3 separate regions of the Homo sapiens genome follow, and all the other regions are linked to region 1. Evidence: promoter capture Hi-C in 16 types of primary human blood cells and fetal thymus (Javierre and others, 2016). All regions are on one chromosome and are shown on one strand. The core of a region is centred on a gene start or on the middle of the fragment in contact, and the rest is flanking DNA. Distances in the headings are between cores, read along the strand shown.

The links. Contacts are between HindIII fragments. The CHiCAGO score rates a contact against its expected background, and 5 or more counts as called.
Region 2: a fragment that was not itself captured here is called in contact with the fragment with the promoter of COPS7A in region 1 in 1 of 17 cell types (total CD4 T cells); the score reaches 5.4 in total CD4 T cells.
Region 3: a contact is called between the fragment with the promoter of CD27-AS1 here and the fragment with the promoter of COPS7A in region 1, in 3 of 17 cell types (naive B cells, naive CD4 T cells and total B cells). The highest score is 5.6, in naive B cells.

The regions. Positions count from the first base shown.
Region 1 is chr12:6,722,531-6,725,665 of GRCh38, reverse strand. It overlaps COPS7A (COP9 signalosome subunit 7A), which reads right to left and starts at 1,620. Exons shown (of 8, transcript NM_001164094.2): 1 at 1,487-1,620; 2 at 848-1,052. The coding sequence starts at 1,009. RefSeq lists enhancers at 966-1,185, 1,316-1,455, 1,486-1,695. The HindIII fragment of the contact is 1,412 bases long and covers 1,523-2,934 here.
Region 2 is chr12:6,330,410-6,333,544 of GRCh38, reverse strand. It overlaps TNFRSF1A (TNF receptor superfamily member 1A), which reads left to right. Exons shown (of 10, transcript NM_001065.4): 4 at 29-178; 5 at 398-476; 6 at 2,619-2,692; 7 at 2,834-2,947. Among named protein-coding and RNA genes, the nearest start is that of TNFRSF1A, 10 kb to the left of the region's middle. The HindIII fragment of the contact is 4,278 bases long and covers 1-3,135 here.
Region 3 is chr12:6,450,267-6,453,401 of GRCh38, reverse strand. CD27-AS1 (CD27 antisense RNA 1) reads left to right here and starts at 1,885. Exons shown (of 6, transcript NR_015382.2): 1 at 1,885-3,061. It overlaps CD27 (CD27 molecule), which reads right to left. Exons shown (of 6, transcript NM_001242.5): 3 at 3,050-3,135; 4 at 2,772-2,861; 5 at 2,388-2,507; 6 at 1,689-2,134. The coding sequence ends at 2,010. It overlaps TAPBPL (TAP binding protein like), which reads right to left and starts at 1,360. Exons shown (of 7, transcript NM_018009.5): 1 at 1,090-1,360; 2 at 105-335. The coding sequence starts at 1,153. RefSeq lists enhancers at 1,061-1,660, 2,091-2,250, 2,341-2,550. The HindIII fragment of the contact is 9,942 bases long and covers 1-3,135 here.

The DNA.
Region 1 (3,135 bases), core at 371-2,870:
GCAGTTTGCCATGTGTCTCTGGGAAAAAGACACGTTCTCCCTTAGCTAACTTGAATAGATTAGCATATGCTGCACATAGGGAAGAAAAGGGCATGCTAATTTAACATGTTCACTCTCCACTTGTACCAGACTTCACACTTTCCCATAATCTCACTTTATTCCCACAACAGAGAGGGGCAGTATTGTCTCCATTTTTAAAAGAGAAAGTTGGCTAGGTGCGGTGGCTCAAGCCTGTAATCCCAGCACCTTGGGAGGTCAAGGCGGGCGGATCACGAGGTCAGGAGATCGAGATCATCCTGGCTAACACAGTGAAATCCCATCTCTACTAAAAATACAAAAAAGTTAGCCGGGCATGGTGGCGGGCGCCTGTAGTCCCAGCTACTGAGGAGGCTGAGGCAGGAGAATGGCGTGAACCCAGGAGGCAGAGCTTGCACTCAGCTGAGATCACGCCACTGCACTCCAGCCTGGGTGACAGAGCAAGACTCCGTCTCAAAAAAAAAAAAAAAAAGAGAAAGCTGAAGCCCTAAAACAAAAGTGACCTGATCAAGGTGACATGAGAATTAACAGCTACTACACTGGTGGAGACCGGCTGGAAATCAGGTTTCCTATTCTGAATAGGATGCTCTTTTGCTTAAAATGAAAAATAGTGGGCTTTACAGATCCCTTATCTCCAAAGGAGAGCTGGTTTGCTTGTTCACTGGTTACTTCTGCAAGTTGGCATTTAATTATCACTGTTTTCTTGTTCAACTGAATGGTTATTGGATCACAAAATGAGCCCTGCCCACCCATTCTCAAATTCAAACCTTTGCCCACGCTTCTCTGAGGGCTATTCAAGCCAGCAACCCACCTCTCTAACATTGGGCATGTCCAGCAGTTCTCCAAACACGTAGACACCAGGGGCCTCCAGCACCTGATGGATGAGTGTGGCCAGCGCTGCCCCCTTGGCCGACTTGGCTAGGAGCAGAAATTGCTCCTGGTTCTGCCCTGTCACCTTCACTTCCGCACTCATCACTGCACTGAGTGTGGGGGACTTGGGCTCAGGATGTCCAGAGCTGCAAGGAAAGAGGATGTGAAGCTAGAGGTCCCCGATGGCTGGTCGGATGGGAAGCACAAGGCTGAGGGACTGGATTGTAAAGGCACTAAGTCGGTTCTGCGGTGAGGAATCAGACATGGAGCGGTCTAAAATTCTGATCTAGGAATCCTAAAGTCAGCCACTTCGCAAGGCTGCCACACCCACCCCCTCCCCTGGGCCTAACCCCAAGCCCCATCACGTGCACCCCATTGAACCCCAAGACACAGGATGCAAAGGAGAAATGGGTGTCGCATGGTGTCCACCCTGACGACGCTCCCTCAGCTCTCCATTGCTGCCCCGCACGCGCCCACAACCACGTGACCTCACCCCCATTGAAGCTTACACGTGGCTCCGCCCCCTCCCTTAAAGACACCGCCCAGCGACCGTGGGCTCCCGCCGACTGCTTCGTCGTACCCTGGGTCAGGCTCTGCGGGCCGCTACCTGGAAGCTTCGACCTCCAGCGCACCGGGCGGGGCCGCCGCTCCGTCACCTCCGGCAGCTGTTCCAAGCCTTTCCTGCCACCTCCCTGAAGAGTCGCTCTGGCCACTAAACTCTATGGCGGGCTTCCGGCCGTACTTCCGCTCTAAGGACGCAAATTTCGGCAGGACATGCCCCACCCCCGCGTTCCGACCGCTGAAGCTCCAGTGAGGGACGCAGGCATTCTACTCTTCGATTGGTCGCTGGGGGAAGAATGACGGGCGCCTTTTTAAATGCTTTATTTCAATAAAACTTTATTAGTGGAAGAGCGCCAGCTATTAACTACAGACGTCTCTGGTGGGTCCCTGGTCCCGGCCCATTCTGTGTCTGTTCTAAGCCGCTGGAGAGCTGGAGATCAGGACTGCACTGGGTACCTGAGGCAAGAGAAAAGCTGTAACGGAAGGAGTGAAGAAGAGGGAAAAAAACGGGATGAGGAAACAAGGGGCAGAGAGGAAGCAAACAAAAATCAATAATAGAAGTTTAGCAGCAGAGATCACCTAGGTGGTTCAACCACTCACTTTTTTGAAGAGCAGGAGAAAAGAAGCGAGAAAAATAAAAGAGAGAATAAAGCTAACATGTATTGAGTGCTTACTATTGGTCAGACATCTTTTAAAATTTTATTCCGTTGAATCCTCACAAATATTCCCCTGTGACTTCAGGACACCCTCTACCATGATTACTACATATGTATTAATACTTGTAGAATGATGCTTTCAGTACATGGACTCTTAATTTCTTGGGGAGGAAAAAACCCTATGTGGTTCTCATTTTACAGAAAAGGAAATTGAGGCTCATAAAAATCCAAGGATTTATCTGGAGCTTTTCAAACTCAAAACCATCTTTCTACTTCAATATGATACTTTAATAAAAACAAAAACAACTAACATTTCTATAGTGTTTTATATTTCACAACAGGCTTGCAGAAGGTCAAGTGAGGGTAAAGTTAATGACATCTTGGCCTTTGTGTTAAGCCATGAGCATTACTTAATTCATCTGATACAACGATCTAGTAATTGTTATCTCCACTTTCCAGATGGAAAAACTGAACTCAGGAAAATTAAGAAACTTGTAAGTAATGGAAAGACAAGAAAGTGAAAAAGAGAAAGATAAAGAGAAATAGGACTCGTAGTCTGTTAGGGCTAAAGGAACTGCAGATGCAGTTTATGGTCCGCATATTTTGGTTTGTGATAGAAAATAAGCAGAAACACAGAAAGGAAAGAGAAAGGAGGAAGAGGAGAAGAAGAAATGAATGGAAAAGGTGAAACAAAAGTGAGTAGAAGGAATCAAAGGCATAATAAAATATTCAGAGTTTGAAGGAAGCAAGGAATTAATGAGTCCAAACATTATTATTATTATTTTGCATCCACCCCTCCCCGCCCCAAGCTTATCTTTTTTTTTTTTTTTTAATTTGAGACGGAGTCTCGCTCTGTCGCCCAGGCTGGAGTGCAGTGGCGCGATCTCGGCTCACTGCAAGCTTCGCCTCCCGGGTTCACGCCATTCTCTGGCCTCAGCCTCCCGAATAGCTGGGACTACAGGCGCCCGCCACTACGCCCGGCTAATTTTTGTATTTTTAGTAGAGACGGGGT
Region 2 (3,135 bases), core at 139-2,638, 390 kb after region 1:
CTCATACCCCATCTTCTCCCCTCACCAGAAATGGGTCAGGTGGAGATCTCTTCTTGCACAGTGGACCGGGACACCGTGTGTGGCTGCAGGAAGAACCAGTACCGGCATTATTGGAGTGAAAACCTTTTCCAGTGCTTCAATTGCAGCCTCTGCCTCAATGGGACCGTGCACCTCTCCTGTGAGCGCAGCTCTCCTGAGGCCAAGCCCTCTCCCCACCCCAGGGGTTGGCCCCTTCCCCATGCGGTGGCACTTCCTTTCCTTCCCCCTCCTGTATTCTGTGGGTCTGACAACCAACTCCTCTCTGGCCGCCCCCACCCTGTCCCTCGTCACTTCCTCTGTCCTGTGGGGTGGGGGTGCAGGCGCTTCTCCTTTAGCTGTGCCGCACTTCTCCCTACAGGCCAGGAGAAACAGAACACCGTGTGCACCTGCCATGCAGGTTTCTTTCTAAGAGAAAACGAGTGTGTCTCCTGTAGTAAGTGAGTATCTCTGAGAGCTGCTGGGCACTGGATGGTGGCATGGGTTGGGACGGGTGACTGGTGGGAACCATTAGCTGGGCAACAGATGCCAGGATGCCCCAGAGTGCTCAGGGTCCTACTGGCTGAGTAGGAGACACTTCGTTAAGACACCAGGCAGTCCTTCCCCTTGCTCTTCAAATCTGAAGAAGTCTTTGAGGATGGAAGATCATGCCCCAAGGGCTGGCAGCCCTTCCAACTCAGATATGTAGATTCTTGGATCTACGATAGCTCATTGGTTCTAGGACATACACTCTTATAGCTCTGAAATCAAACCTCCTATAACTGGTGACTCATCATGGTTGAATTGGCAGCTCTGTTTGCGTCTGGGTAGTAATGTAAAGAAAAGTGCCTTTTATTCTTGATGGCGTCTTAGGTTTGATGCAATATGGTATTTCCTCATTAGTCACTGTCCAGGCCTCCTTACTCCTGGCTCCACAGAGGCTGTTCTTGTCACTCACTTGCAAAGAATAAACTCTGAGGGCTCTCAGAGTTTGAACCCCAGCATAGCCACTTACTGGCTATGTGACGTTGGGCAAGTTTCTTAACATCTCTGAGCCTGACTTTTCTTTTGGTGTTTTTTTTTTTTTTTTTTTTTTGAGACAGGGTTTCACTCTGTCACCCAGGCTGGAGTGCAGTGGTGCAACCGTGGCTCAGCCTCCACCTCCAGGGCTCAAGCCATCCTCTTGCCTTAGCCTCCTGAGTAGCTGGGATTAGAGGCACACACCACTACACCCAGCTAATGTTTTACTTTTTGTAGAGACAGGGTCCTACTATATTGCCCAGGCTGGCCTCGGACTCCTGGGCTCAAGCGATCTTCCGCCTCAGCCTCCCAAAGTGCTAGGATTACGGGCATGAGCCACCACGCCTGGCCTGGGCCTTAGATTTCTTATATTTAAAGTAAGCATAATGACATTCATTTGGTGAATTTGTGAGAACCAAAAACAAAGAAACAAACAAAACCTACAACACGTCTGACACAAAACTATTTATTTTCCATTAATCTTCTTTTTTTTTTTTTTTTTTTTTTTTGACACAGAGTCCTGCTCTGTCGCCCAGGCTGGAATGCAGTGGCGCGATCTCGGCTCACTGCAACCTCTGCCTCCCAGATTCAAGCAATTCTCCTGCTTCAGCCTCCCAAGTAGCTGGGATTACAGGCACGTGCCACCATGCCTGGCTAATTTTTGTATTTTTAGTAGAGATGGGGTTTCACCATCTTGGTCAGGCTGGTCTCAAACTCCTGGTGATCCACCTGCCTCTGCCTCCCAAAGTGCTGGGATTACAGCCGTGAGCCACTGCACCCAGCCGGCTTCATCTCTTCTTGAAATCACTTTTATACCATTCTATGTGGTTCTCACCATGAGCTTGAGTGGTGGGCTAAAGTGCCTCTCCCTGCTTTCAGCTTCCTGCTGGGAACTCACTCTCTCAAGTTCCTTCCAGCACCACCCCATAGAGTTCCCATCACTCCACACTGTCCAGTGACAACTCCCAACATGGAAGATCTGCTAGTTCTACAGGGTGCTCTCTGGCTGCCCCAGTAACATGTGTTTTTAAATTTTTCACATGCATGTTTGACCCCGACTCCCCGAAGTCAGGTACTGTAACTAGCAGTGTCATTTAAGAAAAAGCCCTTTAACCTCTCTTTGCCAAAGGATTCTTATCAGCAAAACAGTGATGAAACAACAATCCCATAACAGCTAGCTGGCTACCTTCTCAAGCACTTATTAAATGAGGCATAATGATTTTGCTTAATCCTCAATCCTGAGAGGTGGGCGATCCCTGTGGTGATGAGGAAACCGAGGCTTGGGGGTTAATGGCTTGCCTAGATTCACACTGCTAGCCAAGGAATGAACTGGAATTTACACCCTGACCCTGACTGCTTTTCACATTTTCTACACAGCCTTTTCAAGATCCCTGCCAATTCTAAAATTAAATGATTCTATGATTAACTGTGTTTCATTCTTCTGCATCAGTTCCCAAAACAAATTATATCAAGAGACAGCAAAAATATTTGTAAAGAAAGGATGTCCAACAATCTGTGTGGTTGTTTTTCTGTGTTCCTCCAATGGTAGGGCCTCTGTTCACCAGTGCCGTCTCTTCTTTTAGCTGTAAGAAAAGCCTGGAGTGCACGAAGTTGTGCCTACCCCAGATTGAGAATGTTAAGGGCACTGAGGACTCAGGTGAGGAGAAGTGACCTGGTGCCCATGCTCACCTGCCCTCTCCCTCTTCTTGCCCCCACCCGTCCATCCATCCCACCCATCCATCTATCCCTGCGGCCCCCCTCTGCCCGCTCCTCTGACCAACACCTGCTTTGTCTGCAGGCACCACAGTGCTGTTGCCCCTGGTCATTTTCTTTGGTCTTTGCCTTTTATCCCTCCTCTTCATTGGTTTAATGTATCGCTACCAACGGTGGAAGTCCAAGCTCTACTCCATTGGTGAGTGGGGGCTTTGGGAGGGAGAGGGAGCTGGTGGGGGTGAGGGAGGACATGGGTGGGTGCGATGGACATGTGTGGAGGGAGGTGAGGAGTGTCCCCTCAGTTCATACCGCTGGGGACTCTGGGCAGAAGGTGGCCCTGGATGGCTGGGGAGATGTCGAGCTGCATCAGTAGCTCTCTCGTCCCTG
Region 3 (3,135 bases), core at 636-3,135, 270 kb after region 1:
CACCAGGGCCAACGGGAGGCAGTATGTGTGGCTGTAATCGGGACCTGGGCTGTCCTGGTGGAGGGAGCCCGGGAGGACCAAGGACACAGGTGGAAGGCTTTTACCTGAGGCCTCAAAGATAATAGGTGGGTCATCTTGGGCCAGTGTGCCCCCTTGGAAATCGGTGAAGTCCTCCAGGGAGCCATCGTCCAGCACTGGCACCTGCTTCAGCACAAGGGAGGCCCTTGCCCTGTCCTCACTGCTGGCGAGAGCTCCACGGTGCGCACCGTCCTTCGCCAGGAAGCAGTCTAGGACCACGTCCACTGCCCGCCACTGCCCCTCTGCTGGGTGGGGCTCTGCAGACAAAGGCTGGGGTGAGCACCGCCTTCCCCAGAAAGCTACTCCACACTTGCTTCCTGCCCCCGCCCTCAAGCTGTGGAGTCATCAAAGGGTAAAAGTTGCCATCCAAGATCCTAGCTGTTTCTGTGTCCCTCTATTCTCCCGTCATCCCCAAACCAGCTTTCTGGAGAGCACCTGCTAGTCCAGGCAAATACTTCTTGGTGAGAGTTAAAGTCCTGGATTTGCCTTGCTCAGAGGAGTTTATGCTTGCATTTCCAACTGTTGAATAAAAGACTATCTTTTCAGTCAAAGGAATTCTCAGAAAACAAGCAAGTGCCACCGCAGAGAGAGGAGACTGGACAGTTACTGTTGCTGGGGCACTGACAGCCTGCACTGCTTTCTCCCATTTCGGGTAGCCTTCCCCTCCCCCGCCTTCAAGGTCACCTTCCAAGTGATTTCCTCACCTGGGGAGTCCTTTCCTCTTCTGAAGTGTCAGCTCCCAGGCCAGTGCCCTCTCTGTAGGACAGTGGCTCCTGACCACAGCCACAGAGGCAGCCCCTCTTTAGCATTTTCCCTGTGGAGTCCCCACCCTCCCTCCACACACACTATTGGTTCCTTCCTTTGCCAGCCGCTGAGCCTTTCCCCTGTTGGGCTTAGAAGGCGATGGGGTCATCCCCGGCCCCTTTGCTCTTCTGGAATCTCGGGGAGGGTGGCACCCTGGGGCTTCAGTAGCTCTTCTCCCAGCCAGCTCTCCCCGACTCCCAGACTCACTGGTTTCTGCTGCTCCAGATAGAGCCAGGCAGAGCAGCAGGCACCAGCCCTCCTGTGTGCCCATGGAGGCTGCTCTCGAGTTCCCTCCTTGCCCACCGCCCTTCTCCACAGTCCTACGCTGCTTGCGAGGCCCGGCGGAAGAAGGGGGCTCTCCAAGCACACCTGGCAGCCTGCAGCCTTTAGGTTTCTTCCCTGTTCCCTCTGCTGCCGACTTTTCTTTCACTTTCACTTAGAGCAAGATGGCAGCCCGCGTCCCTGTGTGAAGCCGTCTGCAGCAGCTGCCAGAGCCCTGCTTGCTGTTTCCTTTCTCACCACCCACCTCACCCGGAAATCCCCTGGTGATTTCAAGACCTGACCTCTGCACCCTTTTGCTCCCCACCTGTCCCAAAAAAGTGGAGCTATAACTGTGGGAAAAGGGGATCTGAAGTCAGACACAGGATCCACAGTAGCCTGGGGACCTTTCTCACCCCCGCCCTTAAGCAGGCCCCAACATAACCGGCTGAGAAACCTCCTCTGCCAGATCCTGACCTGAGCCAGGAGGCGGCCAGGAAACTGGATTTTGGGACTGGGATTTCAGAGAGGAAGCTGGAGAGCTGCAGGGTGGTCATCTGTCACTTTATTTTGCCCGTCTTGTAGCATGTGGGTCTTTCGCAGCAGGAAGTGTGTTTTACAACCAGAGCCCCCGCCCTCCTGCAGCGCAGGCGCAGCTGGCTGGGCTCCTGCTTCCCACTCTCCACCTCATCCATATTTGTCCTCGTCCCTGCCAGTCTCGAAAAGGCACTCTGTCACGTGTACACAGGAAAGGGCCCTGACAAGAGGATGGGACTGCAGTTGTGGCTGCCAGGTCTCACTCTCCCTTGGATGGTCGGCGGGGTGGGGGTGGAGGCCAGGGCTGTAGTGCAGCTCCCGCAGGTGCTGGCTCAGGGGGAGCAGGCAGGCTCCGGTTTTCGGTAATCCTCCTGGATGGGGATGGTGCTGCCCTCCTCCTCCCTGGGGCAGCTGTAATGACAAGGCTCTGCAGGCTCCACAGGACTTTCTCCTTTGTCTGCAGAAGGAGATCCGATGAGTCTTGGCCAGCAGTGGGGGCAGGGGGAGACGGGAGAAGGAGATGGGTAGAGGCGGGTGCGCTTGGGGGAGGGGTGTCAGGAGCACGCCAGCTAAGGGGAGAGAAGGGGTAGGACCAAGGCTGGTGAAGTGGAGCTGGTGGGTTTCAGTGAGATTCCAGGCGTGGGCAGTGGGGTTGAGCCAGTGGGGTGTGGTGCAGGGGCAGGACCGGAGGCCTGTGTTCTGTCTCTTACTTGATCTATATTTCCTTCGTTGATGGAGGAACAGGGCCCCGGCCAGGGTGAAAACAAGGAACATTCCAGAGAAGATCACAAGGATGCGAATAAAATCGGAGCTGCACAGGGATCTTTGGGCTGTAATAGGAGGGGACACACAGGGGTTAGGGGAGGGTCTAGCCCTTGGCTCCCTCAGCCCAGCCCTCCTGTCACCTTGCCTCTCCCCTTTCCCCCACCTTATTCTATCCCACCCGCCACCGTTGGCCAACTCCTCTCCTAAACAGTGGACTCTGCTTTTTCCCCTCCTCTTATCCCTAATCCTAGGAGCTTTCTGTCTGGCTTCCCTCCTGGCCCCTCGTGTATGCATTCTCTCTAGCGGTGGGGATTAAGGAGAAAACTCACGTGGCCAGTGGGTAGAGAGAGTCCGGGCAGGCAGCTGCCTGAAGTCAGCCAGAGTCTGCATGTGCCCAGCTGTCCTGGCCTCCAGCATCTCTGGAAAAACAGAGACAGAATGAGTAGCAGCAGGGGACCCCATAGGGCACATCTGAAGGCCTGAGAGGTGCTGGATGGGATGGGAAGGCAGAAACAGGCTGACCTTATCTAGGGGTAGGAGTGGGGAGTACTGGTTGGGGTATCACCGCTACCCCACGTGATGGCACAGAGAGTTGCCTGGAACTTACCACTGACATAAGGTAAGTGGGTGGGCTGAGGGTGTGGGCTCAGGGCCTGAGACGACCGAGCGGTCAGCGAAGGGTTTGGAAGAGGA